Regions from separate parts of the Homo sapiens genome. Here region 2 is linked to region 1. Evidence: promoter capture Hi-C in human tissues and cell types (Jung and others, 2019). All regions are on one chromosome and are shown on one strand. Each heading gives the region's core, a stretch centred on a gene start or on the middle of the fragment in contact. The rest is flanking DNA. Distances are from core to core; before and after follow the strand shown. Region 1 holds the start of TNK2 (tyrosine kinase non receptor 2). Region 2 overlaps PCYT1A (phosphate cytidylyltransferase 1A, choline).

Region 1 (4,008 bases), core at 467-2,966:
CGGGCTCAGGGGCCAGAGGGAACAGTCTGACCCTTCCTCCCTAACATCTGCCGGGGCTCCGGGGAGGTGGGCACCAGGCTCCAAAGGGCCTGAGGTTTCTTTACTCACGACACTGCAGGGGAAGTCCTGGCCCACCGCAGACACCAAGAAACTGAAACCTAAAGACATTATGTTGCCCAAGGAAGTTACACAGCTTGTAAGCGATATAACCAGATCAAAAGCAATCTGTGTGATGCCAAGGCCTTTCTCCCATTCATCTACCACAAGTTCAAAAACGCCGACCTGAAATAAGTAGGTGAAGATTGTGTGTATGTGTTTAAAACAGACCGTTCTCTCCACTGAAGCCAGACAGTGAGAGCCACTCTGGCCATTCCAGAAGCGTCAGGCACCGTGGGCACAGCAGCTGAACTTCCGGTGCATGAGTGTTTGGGTGGCAGCGCGACAGGCATGGGATGAAGCTGACAGGCGGGTTTGAGTTTGTCTGAGGAGCGGGCTAACCGGCTCCTCCAGCAGCTGCTACCTCCAGCACCACTCCCTCTGCCCCCAGAGGAGAGCACCCAGTCTGGTTCGGGACAGGGGTCTGGGTCCATCTGACTCACAGCCACACCTCGGGCTGGGGCAGAGGAGGGTCCTCTAGCTAAGGCCCTGGGCAAGCAGCAACCCTGCACCCATCCCCACCCAGGGGCAGGGGAAGCAAGCACCTGACAGTGCCAGGTAAGAGGCGAACAGCTCTAGGAGAGTAAGGCCCACAAGCAGCCCGCCAAGCCCCCTGGGGGCACGAGGCGGAATGAGTAGGTCTGGCACTCAGGCCACGAGGGAGTCAACAAGCCAAATACAGCCCCCACCCTTGGCCCCTACAAGCCCTACCTCTAGACTGGGCTGGGAGCTCCTGTCCTGACAGGTGCAGAGCCCATGATACCACAGCGGCCCATCTGCAAACCTCCCCAGGGTGGGGCCACAGAGGCAGCCCAGAGCCCTGGGGTGCAAGTGCACCCTCCTCTCCCGCCCCTCTAACGCTGGGTCGTCCCACCCAGAGACGAGAGGGCTCACCAGTTGCTCTCCCTCCTTCCGCCCACTAATCATCCTTGGCTCTGGGCCCTCAGGGTAAATCAGCTGTGACAGGACGGCGTGGCAGAAGCGGGCCAGGCTCGTGCCGTACCCAAGCCACTAGCTGTCACACTCATCTCAGCTCACGTGACCAACAGGGTTACAAGATAAGGTTCTGTTAATCCCACGCTGCCCTCTTCCCTTCTGTGGGACGTGTTTTGAGGACTTGTGTGTTGACTGCACCATGCAGAGCATATAGCATGGAGGCACCCCTACTGCCATCGGGGGGCAGGTGGAGGGGGGACCGTCCTGCAGCTCCTCCCTGGGGCTACCCCTCTCTTCCCTCTGCACAGACCTGGCAGCCACCCAGACGTCCCGCCTGCTGCCTAGACTCTAAGAAGATGCCCTATCACTCCAATTACCATACACAGTACTGGCGGGGGAGAGGTCCTGCCTTGCCGCTGAAAACTGCACTGCTTCCTCCCTCCAGGGATGAAAGGCCAAAAGAACGAGGGCAGTGTGGAGTCTACGCTCTCGCCAGGGACCTGCAGCCTCTCACTTCCAAGCACACCAACTCCAGCTAACAGGACTGGGCTTCCTTACCTGCCGCCTTCCGCTGCCTCCCCGCAGACACAGCTTCAGCGACGCCCAGGCTGAGACGGCAGAAGAGGTTCCCGCCGGCCGCGGCCTGCCCTCAGGCAGTGGCTCCCAGAGCTCAGCGGTTCCCCGCACTCTTCTGCGCCCGACTCCCCATGCCCCTACATCCTGCGTCCCCTTCAGCCCCGGAGGTACCGTGGGGCCCGGGCCTGCCAGTCACCACCTCCTCCTCCGCCGGCGCCTCCGGGTCCTGAGCCCCTCGCCGGGTCCCTCTCCCTCCTGGGGCTCCTTCCCGTTCAGGTAGGTTTCCTGGACAGCCCGCACCACCTGTCCCTCCTGCACCCCGGGCAGCCAATTCGCCTCTTGCACCCCCAGGCGCCCCTCCCCCGCAGGCCCCCGGGGCCCCACCGGCCGGGCCCTCCCCACCAGCTCGGGGCGGCTTCGGGGCGCCGGGGCCGCTCCCAGGACCACCGCCTCCCGCCCGACGCTCTCCCACTGCCGCTCCCCCAGTTCGCCGGAACTTTCCGGCCCCTCCCTGCGCTCGCGGGGGCCTTCCCCGGACTCGGACGCCGGTTCGGGCTGCTGCAGCAGCCTCCGCGGGCTCCCCTCCCCGCGCTCCTGCACCCCGGCCCGGGCCTCGCCGCGCTCCTGCACTGCGGGGCTGCCTCCGCCCTTCTCCTGGTGCTGCCCGCGGGGCCCCAGCCCCTCCTCCTGCGCCACAGGCCAGCCCGCCGAGCCCGTCCACCACGGCGGGCGCCCCCAGCCCGCGCCGTCCGGCGGCCCCCACACCACCCCCCGGCTGGGCTCGTGGCCGCGGCCGCCGCGCTCCTGCAGCCCCGGGCCCACCCCGCCCTCCTCCTGCACCGCCGGGCCCACCCCGCCCCGCTCCTCCACGCCGAGCTTCAGCCCGCGGAGCTGCTGCGGGCCCCAGCTGAGAACCCCTACGCGCTGCGGCTGCTGCTCCGGCAGCGCAGGGCTCAGCCCGCCGCGCTCCTCCTGCGCGACCCGCCGGGGGCCCCCGACCGGCTCGGCCCAGCGCACTCGCTTGCCCCCCAGAGGCCGCGCGCTCCCACCCCTCCAGATGGTGCTGCCCTCGGCGCCCGCTCACACCGCCCGCCCGCCCCGGCCCTCCCCTCCCGCCCCGGGCCGCCCCCGAGTCCCGCGCCCGCCTCCCCGCCCTCGCCTCCGGGCGTCAACGTCGGCCCGCCGGGCGCCCGCCCCGCGCCGGCCCCCGCAGGTGAGCGCCCGCCCGCCGTCCCTCCTGCCGAGCGCCCCGAGCCCGCCTGCGCCTGCGCCTGCGCCGCCCCGGGGTGGGGGGTGGGGGGGAGTCGGCCCGCCCTCTTAAAGGGCCCGGCCTCATCGCTCCTCCCCCGGCTCCTCCCCCAGCCTCCGGGGCCCTACCCCGCTCTCCCCGACTCCCCCGGGCCCGGCCTGCGCCTTCCTGCGGTGCCGAGGAGCGGTGGCGCCCTGGGTGAAGAAGTCCCGCCGAGTCGAGGGGCGCAATGGAGGAGCGCCGGAACAGGTCTCTCATTCCGAGTAGCTACCGTTGCACTGTGCGAGTGTAAAAGTCACTTCCACCCGGTCTCAGTTGTTCCAACCTCAGTTGAAGTGAGGAGGTTGGACTGGAAGGTTTCTGGGGTCACTCCAGTGAGGCTGGGGTTCTAGTCCCAATCTCACCGTGGCACCCCAAAGGCCCAGAAACCCGGACCATCACCTCTCTTTCCCCGGGGCCAACGGAGCACTCCTGAAGGAGGGAGGGTTTGTCTCAGGCCTGACGATTCCTGATGAGGACTTGGGCAGAAACAGCCCCAGGCAAGCGGACCTTCATTCCTGCACTTGAGCCGTCTCCTCCCTGCCCCCACCCCAGAAGGAGAAAACCCAGCGCTCGGATTCCCAGCGGCGGGGCAGCCTGCAGGCCCTGTTCCCAGCCCACAGACCCATGTCCCAGCCCAAACGGAGGCAGCCCTGGGCAGCGGGCGCGTGGAGCCCAAGGGCTCAGGGCCACTCAGCCCTTGTTACTGTCCCTCATCTAGAAAATGGATGTAATAACAAAACAGTTCACGGTAGGTGGCAAGATCAGACACATCGGAAACTGTGTAGGGCTGGCTCTTTCTGCGCTCACACTGTCCAGCAATGGGCCCCAGGGACTTGGCCAGAGCGCAGTAGGGCAATGAGAAAGGGGTGGCTTCTGGAAACCTACACGAGGCCCAGTCTGGGTGGATTTGGGTGGCGGTCCCTTGCCTGCGAGGTGGGCAGGGCAACTTTCTACTAAATTATCTAACACTGCCAGTAATGGCAGCCCTTCCCCAGGGAGCCAGGAGGCTGGGCCAGGACCACCCCCCTGTCGCCTGGCTTCAGGAAAGA
Region 2 (3,769 bases), core at 544-3,043, 360 kb after region 1:
TTTCATCTAAGGTTTGGCAATAATTAGGAAATACAAAGATAATTTTCCAGAGATAAAGGAGCATAAGGTAGGCATAAACGGAAAAAGGTTCTCATCTAAGATACAACTAGTAACAGGATGGAGGAATGATAGAGGGAGAAAAAACAGCAGAAAAGACGCACTAGACACCATGAGATGATACGAAGATCAAATCACTGCCTAGAGCCCCAATTTTTCTATTTCATTAGTTTTATTTATTTGTTTATTTACTTTTTATTTTTATTTTTGAGATAGGGTCTGTCTCTGTTGCCCAGGCTGGAATGCAATGGTGCAATCTCGGCTCACCGCATCCTCCGCCTCCCGAGTTCAAGCAATTCTCATGCCTCAGCCTCCCAAGCAGCTGAGATTACAGGCATGCGCCACCACGCCCGGCTAATTTTGTATTTTTAGTAAAGACAGGGTTTCACCAGGCTGGTCTCAAACTCCTGACCTCAGGTGATCCTCCCACCTCAGCCTCCCAAAGTGTGGGATTACAGGTATGAGTCACCGCACCTGGCCATATTTCAATAGTTTCAGCCTAATACACATGCAACTTCCATATTTTCCTAACACTTCTTTTTCTAAACCCAATGTAAAGCTTCTACAACTGAGCTGTGAGTCATAATCCAGTAAAAAGGCAGCAGATTTCCAGTGACTGTGAAAATACACTTACTATTCCTTCTTTTCATTATTTCAGAAGACATGTAACACTGATATCATCAATGTCATATCGGTTTCTACCCTCCCCCTGCCAGGTTAATCTCCACTTACCACTGCACAGCGCTGCACTTTGGAAGGAACCCCATCTTCTTCTGTTGCCCCGTTGGGTCCGGGCGCCTCTTTTCTCCTCTTCCTTGCATTGACCTTGGCTGAACACTGTGCATCCATCTTCTTTTAACTGGTCATAGAAAGTGAAAACAAAAATTTTCTCATTGGGGTGGGAAAAAGTTTGTCACCAGTATTTCAGAGACGTTGACGTGGATACACTCAGCAAAATACCAATTCTACAGCTGCACTTCACCAAGATGAGCCAATGGCATCTGGCAAAACCAGCGAAGCTTCACAAAACACAGGCTCTAGTAGAAATACTGAAACGCCTCTCTGTGCAACAATGGCCACAGTGAATTGCCTGAAGTCGGAAGTCATTCCCCCTCACAGTGCAGCCTACATACTAACTGCTCATTTTAAATCCTGATTGCATGCAAAAGATTGGAATAATTTGGCTGAGAAAGATAGTTACACAGACTCTCCCACTATCCTCCGCATCATCGATATGACAGGTATAAGGCAATGTGAAGGTATGACTGGTGCAGGTAGAGAAAAGAGCCTTTTGTAAACGGATGGCTCTCACCAAGTCCTGGATTAACAAAACACGGATTTCTTAACTCTAATTTTTTTTAAGACGGGGTCTCACTCTGTTGCCCAGGCTGGGGTGCAGTGGTATGATCTTGCCTCACTGCAGCTTCAACCTCGTTAGCTCAAGCGATCCTCTTGCCCCAGCCTCCCAAGTAGTTGGGACTACAGGCACATGCCACCACACCTAGTTATTTTTTTTTTTAAGAGACAGGCCTCGCTATGTTGCCCAGGCTGGTCTTGAATTCCTGGCCTCAAGTGATCCTCCCAACTCAAACTCCCAAAGACTTGGGATGACAGGCATGAACCACATCACTGAGTGAATTTCTTAACTCTAAAAGTTCTATAGATTTCAGTGACCACTTCACCAGAGTTACTTGCATGAAAATTGTGGAGTAGCATAATGGTTTTTATTTACTTTTTTATTGTTTTTATTTTTTTAGGGGTCTTGCTAGGTTGTCCAGGCTGGAGCGCAGTGGCTACTCACAGCCATAATCATAGCACACTGTAGCCTCAAACTCCTGAGCTTAAGCAATCCTCCCATCTGAGCCTCCAGAATAGCTAGGACCAGCATAATGTATTTTTTAAATGTCCTTCTCCTTCTTTCCTTTTTTTTTTTTTGAGAAAGAGTCTCACTGTGTCACCCTGGCTAGAGTGCAGTGGCACGATCTCGGCTCTCACAGCCATAATCATAGCACACTGTAGCCTCAAACTCCTGAGCTTAAGCAATCCTCCCATCTGAGCCTCCAGAATAGCTAGGACCAGCATAATGTATTTTTTAAATGTCCTTCTCCTTCTTTCCTTTTTTTTTTTTTTGAGAAAGAGTCTCACTCTGTCACCCTGGCTAGAGTGCAGTGGCACGATCTCGGCTCTCACAGCCATAATCATAGCACACTGTAGCCTCAAACTCCTGAGCTTAAGCAATCCTCCCATCTGAGCCTCCAGAATAGCTAGGACCAGCATAATGTATTTTTTAAATGTCCTTCTCCTTCTTTCCTTTTTTTTTTTTTTGAGAAAGAGTCTCACTCTGTCACCCTGGCTAGAGTGCAGTGGCACGATCTCGGCTCTCACAGCCATAATCATAGCACACTGTAGCCTCAAACTCCTGAGCTTAAGCAATCCTCCCATCTGAGCCTCCAGAATAGCTAGGACCAGCATAATGTATTTTTTAAATGTCCTTCTCCTTCTTTCCTTTTTTTTTTTTTTGAGAAAGAGTCTCACTCCGTCACCCTGGCTAGAGTGCAGTGGCACCATCTCGGCTCACTACAACCTCCGCCTCCCAGGTTCAAGCGATTCTCCTGCCTCAGCCTCCTGAGTAGGTGGGATTACAGGCACCCACCACCACGCCTGGCTAATTTTTTGTATTTTTAGTAGAGACAGGGTTTCCCTATGTTGGCCAGGCTGGTCTCGAACACCTGACCTCGTGATCCACCTGCCTCGTCCTCCAAAAGTGCTGAAATTACAGGCGTGAGCCATGGCGCCTAGCCAATTTTTGTATTTTTAGTAGAGACAGGGTTTTGTCATGTTGGCCAGGCTGGTCTTGAACTCCTGACCTCAGGTGATCCACCCACCTCGACCTCCCAAAGTGCTGGAATTACAGGTGTGAACCACTGCACCTGGCCCTTCCCCTTCTTTTCTCAGTACTCATTTCCCTTTCCTCTTTCAGGGTCTTAACACCTCAAGCTTGTTCACAGTTTCCAGCTATTAAAACCCCCTCAGGGATTCTCCTTCCCCCAAAGGAACTTATTTATTATTGTCTCATTTAGCAGAGAGTTTCTAGCAACTAGCTATTACAGCAAAGTTCTGAATATTCTGTATTTCATGTTTAAGTCACAGAATACTTGGGGTGTCACTTCGCTAGCCAGAAACCTCTGTGGCCAGTGGCACCTTTGCCTGAGTTTTGCTCAGGCCCGCCGGGCTCGTTCCGTCCACTCAGCCTGGTAGGCTATGCTCAGCTTGTGTTACCAGCACAGATTCCATGCATGCCAAGGACAAGCCAGGCACGGAGCGGCAAGAGGTGCACAGGCGAGCCAGCACAGGGTCCGGCCACTGCGCACAGCCAGGCACGCCAGCTGCCAGGGGGTGAGCAGCTCGAGGCGCCAGCTCCCTGAGAGGCTGCAGCTGAACCAGGCGTACTACAAGCAGCTTCCACTGCAGGCACTGGGGAACATGGTGCTGCCCAGAAGCTTGGAGAGGCCAGGAACCACAGAGCTCCAAAGAGGGTGTCACAGCCCTGGCTCAAGGAGCTCCTAGGTCTGGGCTTCCCAAAGGGCTACAGCTCTTCTCTTTCTCTCTCCTCTCTTCTCTCTTTCTGTTGCCCACAGCGTGGCAAGCAGTGGGGGAGGGGAGGACGTGTTTCGGCTCTGTTTGTGTTTCAGCTCTTTCAGTCCCACCATTT

What was found. Contacts are between HindIII fragments. The study calls those that stand out against the background at their distance.
Region 2: a contact is called between a fragment that was not itself captured here and the fragment with the promoter of TNK2 in region 1, in 1 of the 25 tissues and cell types used here (spleen).

What each region holds. Positions count from the first base shown.
Region 1 is chr3:195,906,835-195,910,842 of GRCh38, forward strand. TNK2 (tyrosine kinase non receptor 2) reads right to left here and starts at 1,717. Exons shown (of 16, transcript NM_001382273.1): 1 at 1,651-1,717. It overlaps TNK2-AS1 (TNK2 antisense RNA 1), which reads left to right and starts at 1,242. Exons shown (of 2, transcript NR_145450.1): 1 at 1,242-1,944; 2 at 3,031-4,008. RefSeq lists enhancers at 31-260, 3,251-3,300 and silencers at 1,931-2,180, 2,231-2,420, 2,471-3,120. The HindIII fragment of the contact is 14,484 bases long and covers 1-4,008 here.
Region 2 is chr3:196,269,626-196,273,394 of GRCh38, forward strand. It overlaps PCYT1A (phosphate cytidylyltransferase 1A, choline), which reads right to left. Exons shown (of 9, transcript NM_001312673.2): 2 at 790-916. The coding sequence starts at 906. Among named protein-coding and RNA genes, the nearest start is that of PCYT1A, 16 kb to the right of the region's middle. RefSeq lists an enhancer at 3,459-3,769. The HindIII fragment of the contact is 3,023 bases long and covers 283-3,305 here.